Regions from separate parts of the Homo sapiens genome. Here all the other regions are linked to region 2. Evidence: promoter capture Hi-C in 16 types of primary human blood cells and fetal thymus (Javierre and others, 2016). All regions are on one chromosome and are shown on one strand. The core of a region is centred on a gene start or on the middle of the fragment in contact, and the rest is flanking DNA. Distances in the headings are between cores, read along the strand shown.

Region 1 (3,712 bases), core at 639-3,138, 6.7 Mb after region 2:
TAACCTTATTTAGATGCTAAGAAAGGCAATTCAACAGACATAAAAAAGCAAAAAACTTAATTATTTTTATTTTTTAGAAAGCCTACATTATGATATACCTTTCCTGTTTAACAGTAAGAGATTTTATTTCATGAATATCTTAAAAATCCAAAGTATTAACAAAAAAAGACAAAGCCATTCCCAATGCCAATCTAGACTCTGAAGGCCTGAGAATATTCGACTTCCTCTACATAAACTCCAACTTGAAACAAAGTTTGTGCTAATCAACATTTTGAAGGCACAAGGAAGACAAATTGTGCTAGGTCCTGAGAATGAAAGGATGAAGTACAGTATTGGCCAAAAAAGATTGCGTCTAGGGGACAGAAACACTAAACTGATCATTACAACAGTATGCAAGTGCTATGCAAGGTACTGGGATAGCTGGAAATTATTGGTCTTAGGACAGTACAGAAGGGTGCTTTATATAGATGGGACTGTGAAGGGCTTGGAGGGGAGATAGGACAGTGAAGGAATTGAAGAAAGTCTTCCTAAAAGAAGTGATGTACATGCAGAATTGATCCTTAACTGATTTAATGATCAGTAACAGTTTAAGTTACCTCTTCAATGGCTTTTTGTCTTTTGTCTTCCACATCTTTATCTATTCTATACAAAGATAAAGAAGAAAAATAACCATGCTATTACTTAAGCTTATTGAACATTTTAAAAAATAACCTTTCAAATAAATAATCTCCCTTCATTGAAAACTGGCAAATGTTAAGCTCACTTTATAATTAATACTAGTGGTATCTTGTAACATTTAGTAACATTTAGGCAGTATTCTGAAATTCAGCAGTTAGCTGTTAGGCTTACCTCCCTCTTTTCCATTCAAAGTTTGAATGCAATGATACTTTATTTCAAAAGACTTACATTGATATTAAATTGCTTTTAACAATATAAATTTGATAAACTTTGTCCCTTAATACAAATTAAGAAGTATTTAATTCAACATACATCTAAAAATTGTCCAAAGTTTTTCTCTTCAATTATAACAAGTTTATCATGGCAATAATTTTAGAATCAACTTTTACTGTAAAATAGATGAGGATAGTTCACAGTTCTAAACAGTCAAAAATATTAACTCTGAAATAAAACACTGACAATATAACATTTTTTCCAAATGAATTTTTTTTTCACTTTGATACAATCTGCAATTACTGTTATATAAACTTCTCAGCTACAAGATTTAATATAAAATTTTGGGTCCAAGCACAAAGCATATACTTGCCAAGGACTCAGCAGTTAGCTTTCTAGGACCACTTCTTTATTCCATTACAGGAAAGAATCCTTGCCTTCCATCAGTAAATTGGTAAGACATATTTTTTTTTACAATTTAAAATTATTTTGTCTCAGAATTTTTTCTTTAACTTTTATTTTAAGTTCAGGGGTACAAATGCAGGTTACACAGGTAACTTGTGTCACTGGGGTTTGTTGTACAGATTATTTAATCATCCAGGTATTAAGTCTAGAATCCATCAGTTATTTTTCCTGATCTCCCTCCTCTCACCCTCCACCAGGCCCCAGTGTGTGCTGTTCCCCTCTATATGTCCACATGCTCTCATCATTTAGCTCCCACTTATAAGTGAGAACATGAGGGGTTTGGTTTTCTGTTCCTGTATTAGTTTGCTAAGAATAATGGCCTCCAGCTGCATCCATGTCCATGCAAAGGACGCGATCTCATGCTTTTTGTGGCTGCATAGTATTCCATGGTGTGAATTTTTTTCACATATAGACTTGCTCATGGCTTAATAAAGCTTATATGAGAATGTATACATTTCAGAAATTAAGTAGATTTTTCAAGTGGGAGAAGTATGAGAAAATAAACTACAGTGTCAACCCACATATCCCAGCTTGAACAGTAGCCATTTTGAGGATAACAAAATGGCCTTCATCTTATCAATGGTTCTCTTCATCTTATCATGGTCAAAATGGCAGCACATAACAAGCTTAGCAAATAGCAAGTAAGCTCTGAACTAGGATTACTGCATTCAGAAACCTTTTGCTACTTCATCAGAGGGACTTCAAGAACATGAAATACTCAGGTGATTGCTGGAAACTGTAAAAATCACTGTGGCCAAATACTCTAGAGTCAGATCAAACAAGATTCTAAGAAGTCATACAGGGGAGAGCATCCTGACCAGCATACCACTGAACACCAGTATGATGCATATAGGTATAGGTGTGGCCTGAATGTTGAGCCTTTGCAGGGTGGCAAAGGAGAGGGGACCTCAGGACTGGTCACCTACATGGCCAAGACTCACCTGCTTACACTGGTATGCTTTTCAGTTACAATTTTCTGTGTGGATGGTGGCATGAAAAGGATGGGAAGAATTGAAGTAGAGGGCTAATATGTAAGAAGAGATACTGAAAGACACTGCTTGTTTCTAAGGATGAAACGAGATGCTCTGTGAAGAATATATTGACTATCCTTGGTAGAAGCCATAACCATTCATTGAATTATATTATTAAATTAAATTATAATATTTTCCCACTCTTTTCCATTCTTCTATATGATAAATCTATGTACTAAGAGACACCAAGATTATCTTTATAAACCTTTGCAGACAATATATCATTTAGTAGTAAGAACAGAAGCACTGTGTTACAACTTTGGTCTAATTATATTTTTGACTCTTGACTCTTAGTATCTTGTACTTCTTCAGTGTTTCTTACAGTCCCTCACAGTACTCAATAAGTATCTCTTGACTGATCAATATAATAATTGTCCATCATTCAATATATTGAAGAAATGAGACAAAATAATTAAGCATAATTAAGTTCGTGTGAAACAAAAAATTAGTCACTGTGACTCATTTGCTTTTAGATATTCATCTCACCTTCTCTTTCAAAGGTATTATTTATTTACTTATTTATTTATTTTATTTTTTTGAGATGGAGTCTTGCTCTGTCCCCCAGGCTAGAGTGCAATGGCATGATCTCAGCTCACTGCAACCTTTGCCTCCTGGGTTCAAGCGATTCTCCTGTCTCGGCCTCCCGAGTAGCTGGGATTACAGGTGTGCACCACCATGCCCGGCTAATGTTTTTGTATGTTTAGTAGAGATGGGGTTTCACTATGTTGGCCAGCCTGGTCTTGAACTCATGACCTCAAGTGATCTGCCCGCCTCAGCCTCCCAAAATGCTGGGATTACAGGTGTGAGCCACCACACCTGGCCTCAAAGGTATTATTTAAATTTAAGTTAAAATCCTTTCATGCTTCATCCTCATTCTATTCCCTTCCTATTAACACTCTGGGTGGACATTAATTTTATGATTGAATGGTCATCATGTTACCAAGCAAAGAGAAGATGGAGGAGAAAAGCCAGTAAGTATTTACCAGAATATCTCAATATGTGTGCAACGTTGTGTGACTGAATTCTTAAGTCAAAGGGAAAAGGATTATCCTTTGTTTTGGACTAACAACATGTCTACCTTAGGACAGCAAATTAAAATCTGGTCATACCATGTATTTGATTTTTTTCAAATATTAAAAAATCAGACTATAAAACATATAAACAAGAGTCCCTAAAACTACAAAAGAATAATAGGACCTTACACTTTGTAATAAAAAACTAAATCTGCAGTACATTAGTGCCTTGAAACCTAAACAACACATCAACAAATAAGACTGCACTGGGTGATATGTAGAATTCTAGAAAATGTAATTCAGATTCCAAGT
Region 2 (3,645 bases), core at 476-2,975:
AAGATATTAAAAGGCTTTTGCTATTATTTAGGAAGAATAAAAGACTTTAAATAAGACAGTGACAGTGGTATGAGAGATGGATGGGCAAAGTTTGAGCAGTCAGGGAAAGAAGTAGAAGCGTTCTCTGTGGAAAATAAAGTGAACAAATGTTTGGAGAAAGGGAGGGTGAGCAAATCAGTTTATCTGGGGTATACAGTATTTGATAGAAGCTTTGGAAGGCTGAAGTGGAGAGCCAGAGTAATGGAGTAGCTGGTGATAAGGTTGAAAATATTGGTGGCGTCAGCCTGTGGCAAGGCTACAACAAACAGACTAAACAAATATAATTTTAACTTTCGGCAGTATTAAATTTATAAACAATTTTTATTGTAAAATACATATAAAACCTACCGTTTTCATTAAGTATATGGTCCACTGCATTAAGTACATTCATATTGTGCAACCCACACAACACCACTCATCTCCAGAATCTAAATCATCCTAAACTGAAACTCTATTATCCACTGAAATATAACTCCTCATTTCCCCTTCTCCTGGGCACCCTCTCCACCCCTGCTCTTGCTACCATTCCACCTTCTGTCTCTAGGAGTTTTGACTACTCTAGGTACTTAATGTAAGTGGAATCATAATATTTGTCCTTTCATGTCTGGTTTATTTCACTCAGCTAAATCACTTTAATCAACACCCTGGTTATTCAGTAGCTGGATTCTAATTTGTATTCTACTCTATATGCTGTATTTTAAAACAAATGTCTTGCTTTGTAGTTCATAATCTTTCCACCTAATCCTTAAAGACACTTCACTCTAGCAAATTATAAACTCAAGAGTTCCTAAGAACAATTTAGCCTATCGGTGTCTCTCATAAAGAGCTTTTATTGATCTACTTACTGAAAATGTCTTTAGATTGTGAATATTTTCATTCCATTACAGTTCATGGAACGTAGACCCTTTGTAAAATTCCACCTAGTATCTAAATAGAACTCAAGCAGGAATCAAACTTATTTGATCACCCAGGAAAATAGTTTATTTATTTGGGTTGCTAATATGAAGACTCTCTCTTTTGATACTATATAATTTCCCGATCTGAGATAGGGCTGAATTTGCTCTAAATAAAGAGAATTTTAAAAATAACAAAACTTATCTTTAGCTGGGGGAAAGTGCAGGCTGGAAACTACCTGAGAGACGTGAAGGTTCTCTCACCTTTCCCTTGTGGGCAGCCCTCAGTCATTAGGGCTCTACCAGCAAGTCAAGTACTGTTGGACAAGACACTAATCCTCTGGCGGTCTCATTGGGCTCCATTAGACCAGCCTGTGTTTACAAACCTCGTTCACATCACAGCATACACAGAATATGATACTGGTAGGGCACTTAGGTAAACTGAGGAGGTAGTGTGCTCGGCACCTGGAACCTACGGGCCGCCTGGTGTCGCGCACGCGGGAGTGTACGCTCTCAAAGAGCGATCCATCCGGCAGGACCGTTCCAGCTGACAGGCCACGGCCGTCTTACCGGGGACGAGCTGGGGTTCCCGCTGTTTCTGAAGTCAGCGGTCTTTTCCTCCTTGTAAGAAATAAGGTCTTTATATCATAAAGGTAAGCAAAGAATAAAAAGGCACAAAGGCCGCAAGCAACGCACACACGCAAAAATCGAACTACAGCACTCGACCCGCGCATTCTCCGCCGACCTTACGTCTCTCCCAGCAGGCTCCGGGAGCCACCGCGAGACTTCATCAATTCTCGCGAGATTTACCGGCAGCCATCTTCTTGGGGGTGCTGGGAGCCGGGAAGACCCCCTGAATCGTTCCCATTGAGCTGCCCTTCGCCTTCGCTTTCTTTACTTTTGCCTTTTCGACGTAGCCAACAAGCACCTGGTCCCGAGGCTGAGAGAAGGCTCGGGTCTAAGCGCGTGTCGCGCTTCCGGTCTGGGTAGATTTGCTGGGGAAGAGGGAAGGGGGAGGGCCCGGGCAAACCGTTGCTGTTTCAGCCCGGGCTGGGGGCCGGGGACGGGGAGCTCCTGGCACCCCGTGCACTTGTGGCCTGCGGCGGTCCTTGCAGAGCTGTTCGCCGACCGGGGCCCGCGGGAACCTGCCACCGGCGCCTCCCACCGCGGCCCACGCGGGCGGCGCGCGGAGGAGGGGGCGGGGGCAGCGGCGGCTGTAGCGGCCGCGACCTGGGCGGGCGGAGGAGTGTGACGGGCCTTAGGGCCGCTGTGGATGGTTTCTAAAATGATCATTGAAAACTTCGAGGCACTCAAGTCCTGGCTCAGCAAGACTCTCGAGCCCATGTGAGTATCCGGGGGATATCTCTTTGCAGGGATGGCAGTGGGAGATAGGCGGACCCAGAGATCTGTGCAGTTTCCCCAAGTGCCTGCGGTGGAGGCCGAAGCGGTGAACGGAGGTCCCAGGGTTCTGTGGCTTCTCCTCCTCGTCCACCTCGCTTCCAGATTCAGGATACCCCCGAGAGCCTGAGTCGAGCTTTATTTTATTGCTGAGCTGCTCTCGTTTTCCCGTTATATATAGACCGTCTCCAACCCCCACCCGCAATATTTTCCGGGGGCCTCAAAATCGGTTTATTTTAGTGAAACCGACTGTATTTTACTTCCTACAGATTATTTTACCTTGTTTTTCTAAATGAAGTAGACGGCCTTTATTGGGGATTCGGGCAGTTCTAGCTTAAATCACTCACGTTTCACCTAAATATAATTCCTGAAAGCAAGGCCACGTCTCCCATGTGCTGTCTGGCTCATCTGCACCTCTCTTCACTGATTGAAGATGTAACAGGTGCTGAGGTGGCCAGTAAAATTCCCCTTTCCCGCCTACGCGTTCGTTAGCTTGGAGAGGAGGAAGAAAATTGAATCTTCATCCATATGGAATATTTAGCAGTTTTAAGTGGGATGCTATAGATAGATTTTGTGTTGGGGGCTGCGGTTAGAGTGCTGAAATAGTCTTAGATTGGAAAATTTAAGGAGTGTTTTGACGACTTGTTAATACAAAATATGACATGGACCAAAGTGCTTAATCAGAATTGGTTGATTTACAATAATGCAATGGGGAAAATTCACGTATTTAATAAAGTTATTAGGTACCTACTGTATACTACGGGAGGCTTTGGGGATAGAGCTTTTAAATTCTAAAATCGACAAGACATAAATAAATCCAGATATTAATAGAGTTGTGACTATTGTAATAATAGAGAATCATGTAAAAGTGATTATGAGGGGGGCTATTTCACATTGGTCAAGGAAGGACTCTCAGAGAAGGTGACATTGGAGTAACATCTAAAGAGAAGGGACCATGTGTGTCAAAGTCTTGGAAAAGAACATTCCTTGCAAAAGGAAGAGCAAATGAAAGGCCCTGTAGCAGAAGTGATTGTGGTGTGTTTCAGGAAGAGAAAGGCCACTGTGGCTGGAAAGAGCCTTGTGATGAGGGAGAGGATATAAAGGCAACAAGTTGGACAAGTAGGTAGGGGCCACATCATGTATGGGAAGACGTGAGATGATTTAAAGCAGACAAGGACTGATTTAATTTTGTTTTAACTCTGCCTATTTTGTAGAGACTGAAAGGGCAAGAATGGAAGTAAGAAGATTATTCAGAAGTGTGTTGTAGGCAGAGATGTGGCTAGTTTGCATTAGAGTGATGGTGGAGACAGGCAGA
Region 3 (3,608 bases), core at 673-3,172, 6.6 Mb after region 2:
TGCAGAAAGACCCAAGTTTAAAACCAATTCAAAAATTTATGACTGTGTCTTTCACTGATGAGCTTAAAACATTAGCAGCTGGGCGTGGTGGCTTATGTCTGTAATCCTGGCACTTTGGGAGGTTGAGGTGGGCAGATCACTTGAGGCCAGGAGTTCCAGACCAGCTTAGCCAACCTGGAAAATCCCTGTCTCTTAAAAATACAAAAATTAGCTGGTTATGGTGGTACATGCCTCTAGTCCCAGCTACTTGCGAGGCTGAGTTGGGAGGATCACTTGAACCCGGAGGTAGAGGTTGCAGTAAGCTGAGATCATGCCACTGCACTCCAGCCTGAGCTACAGAGCAAGACTCTGTTTCAAAAAAAAAAAAAAAGCATTAGCAAGTGCATTCAACGATGAGGAATAAAATAATTCTAAAACTATTAATATAAATCAAATTATTAAATTGAATCTATTACCATTAAGTACTGGAAGCTATTGTAGTGAACTTTGCTGTTGTACTTAAACCTGGCTTTGATGAACAGATTTAAAGAAATAGATGAATGTGTTGACATACTTGGGAGTTTAGATAGAAGAAATACGTAATATCTATTAATATACCTGACTTTTCAGTCTCTACATAGCTTCAGCTATTAGTGTTTACCATGGATAATTTATATGCATTATTTATTAATGACTGTAGAATTCTGATTATAAATGATCTAATTATACTATTTGTAGCTTTTAGGAATTGCTATTAACCTACAGTTTGAATGAAATCTGATTATCATACCTGTGAAATTGTATTATAATTTGTCAACAAACTATTATTTAGTGTCTCAACCTAAAGTATAAATTCTGATCTTGAATTTTTCTTTTTAGGAAATAAAATTGTATTAGCCTTTTTCTTGTCCCCTTAATAACATAATTTTCTTCTTTTCCAAGCAAATTGTTTCTTAAAAACTTAATTATAAGAATCTTGATTTCTTCTCTGAGGTGTACATCTGAATACATTCAAGAGAAAAGATATACCATTGACTTTTTCTAGTTTAGTGGTTAAGCATTTATGTGCTAAGAGTTTTCACATATCCTTGTTTCTACTGATTTCCTTTTATTTCGTTTTTTCTTTCCATTTAGAGAAACCTATGTAGAACAAGAACAGGGAGAAAATGCTAATGACAGGAATGATAGAGCGATTCGAGTAGCAGCAAAATGGTACAATGAACATTTGAAAAAAATGTCAGCAGACAACCAGCTGCAAGTTATCTTCATAACAAATGACAGGAGAAACAAAGAGAAAGCCATAGAAGAAGGAATACCAGCTTTCACTTGTAAGTCTAAATGTAGAAGTACTTAGTGCATGTTTGCAAATGCGTGTAAAAATAATCATTAGGCCTATAGTCAGATGTTCACTTTACTATTTAGTATTTTCGTAGTCCTATATAACTTCATGTGATATTTTTGTATTTTTAAATTTCACATAGTTTTTAACCTAAATATGTTGTGCCCAGTGGCTGTTAATTTTCCCCTCACTATTTGCAACTGGTTTAGCAATGAAATCTCATAAATATACTGGAACCCCTGCTTCTGCTTAGGTATGATCACATCAACAGATTTTTGGGTTTTGTTTTTTAAATAAATTGAGGCCAGGTGCTGTAATCCCAGCACTTTGGGAGGTCAGGGCAAGAGGCTTGCTTGAGACCAGGAGTTCAGGACCAGCCTGGGCAACATAGGGAGACTATAGCTCTACAGGAAAAAAAAAAAAAGCCGTGCATGGTAGTATGTAACTATAGTCCCAGCTACTCGGGAGGCTAAGGCAGGAAGGTAGCTTGAGCCCAGGGATTCTAGGCTGTAGTGATGTGTAATTGCGCCGCTGCACTCCAGCCTGAGAGACAGAGTGAGACTCTCAGTGTGTCTCAATGAATGAAAGAATGACGTGTATACTGTCGCAAACAAGACTATCCATTTTTTTCATATCTAAGGAAAAAACACTTATCAAAAACAACATAAACTTATTTTTTCAGGTGAAGAATATGTAAAGAGCCTAACTGCTAACCCCGAACTCATAGATCGTCTTGCTTGTTTGTCTGAAGAAGGGGTATGTTTTTGTTTTGTTTTTGAAAAGTAAAAATATTAAAATAGCCACTTTGGAATATTAGGCATATAGTTACCAAATTTAAAAATTGGAATGTCGGTGGGTAAGCTGGATTTGGAATAGTTGTGTTATAAACAGGAGTGGATGTCATAGGCTTATTGAAATGCCATTCCTAAAGGAGTTAACTTTCTAAAATAGATATATTCCCATTAACCTGAGTAGGGCCTGGTACCTGGTAGCACTGTTTGGTTGAGGAAAAAATGAACGGAGTCCATGGCTGATTTGTGAATAAAGAGTAGCTGCTGACAAATGAAGTGGCAGGCACTGCAGACAGAGGAAAGAAGAGGGAGGGGAGTGTCCAGATAGTAAAGACCTAGAACTTATTCTGTAGGTTAGTAATTTTTCAATTGATTTATAAAGATCTCCCTGAAGGGCTGCTATGAAGAGGAAAGGATTCTGAGATCCCTTCCTTATATGTCAGGCTAAGAAAAAGTAATGGTATATGAATGTGGATTGGTGGAGCAGGAGAGAATGATTGGAAATGGTATTTGTTTGTAAGACCACTCTCATGTCAGTGTGTAACATTAAGCATTTTATCCAGGAAAGATTAGAGGCAGAGAGGTGAGTAAAGGAGTCATTACAATAGCTGATGTGAGAAGGAGTGCTAAGGGAATAATTAAATTCTGAGCATTCATTTTCTTATATATAAATATATAATGTTTAGCAATAATAACTTCATAGTGTTGTTATAAGGATCAAATAAGATGATAACTGTAGCATTAATACAATTTTCATCCTAGTGCCTGGCACATAGGTATGGTAAATATAAATGGTAGCCCTTGTTATAGAAATAGGTTTTAAGTGATAGGACATTATACATAAATCCAGTCTTTACACTTCTGTCATCCCTTCTTACCTTTATGATACTTTATGAAACCAAAAGGAAATGAGAAGATAAAAGTTGGGTTTGATTTTTGAAATACAGATTTAGTATTGCCCTAATATGTAGCCACTTAGTTATATATGACTATTTAAATTTAATATGTATTAAAAATTCAGTTTCTTGGTGGTACTATCTGTCTTTCAAGTGCCCAAGAGAAACTTGTGTCTAGTGGCTACCATATTAGAGATCGCAAAATGAATACTTCCTTCATCATAGAAAGCTGTTTTTGTTAGCACTGGCCTATAAGAAACACTGCTATCTTCTCTCCTATTCAGAGTTGTGTATATCATAATGTAGATTTCAAAAATTCTCTGATATTAATAATAGTTGTGTATTGAGTGAACAGAAGACTTATTAGCGGCATCTTTTGGTTTGCTTCTTTCATAGAATGAAATAGAAAGTGGAAAAATAATATTTTCAGAGCATCTTCCCTTAAGTAAGCTACAGCAAGGCATAAAATCTGGTACATACCTTCAAGGAACATTTAGAGCTAGCAGGGAAAATTACTTGGAAGCTACAGTATGGATTCATGGCGACAATGAAGAAAATAAAGAGGCAAGTATATAAATAAATTCCTTATACACTAAAATAAAG

What was found. Contacts are between HindIII fragments. The CHiCAGO score rates a contact against its expected background, and 5 or more counts as called.
Region 1: a contact is called between a fragment that was not itself captured here and the fragment with the promoter of RBM26 in region 2, in 3 of 17 cell types (non-activated CD4 T cells, total CD4 T cells and naive CD8 T cells). The highest score is 7.8, in non-activated CD4 T cells.
Region 3: a contact is called between a fragment that was not itself captured here and the fragment with the promoter of RBM26 in region 2, in 1 of 17 cell types (total CD4 T cells). The highest score is 7.1, in total CD4 T cells.

Annotation. Positions count from the first base shown.
Region 1 is chr13:72,731,890-72,735,601 of GRCh38, reverse strand. It overlaps BORA (BORA aurora kinase A activator), which reads right to left. Exons shown (of 12, transcript NM_024808.5): 4 at 597-642. Among named protein-coding and RNA genes, the nearest start is that of BORA, 5.8 kb to the right of the region's middle. The HindIII fragment of the contact is 192 bases long and covers 1,793-1,984 here.
Region 2 is chr13:79,404,335-79,407,979 of GRCh38, reverse strand. RBM26 (RNA binding motif protein 26) reads left to right here and starts at 1,725. Exons shown (of 22, transcript NM_001366735.2): 1 at 1,725-2,276. The coding sequence starts at 2,206. RBM26-AS1 (RBM26 antisense RNA 1) reads right to left here and starts at 1,671. Exons shown (of 7, transcript NR_038991.1): 1 at 1,503-1,671. RefSeq lists enhancers at 1,440-1,739, 1,069-2,060 and a silencer at 1,970-2,169. The HindIII fragment of the contact is 7,810 bases long and covers 212-3,645 here.
Region 3 is chr13:72,775,886-72,779,493 of GRCh38, reverse strand. It overlaps DIS3 (DIS3 exosome endoribonuclease and 3''-5'' exoribonuclease), which reads left to right. Exons shown (of 21, transcript NM_014953.5): 3 at 1,114-1,307; 4 at 2,001-2,074; 5 at 3,402-3,569. Among named protein-coding and RNA genes, the nearest start is that of DIS3, 4.2 kb to the left of the region's middle. The HindIII fragment of the contact is 7,790 bases long and covers 1-3,608 here.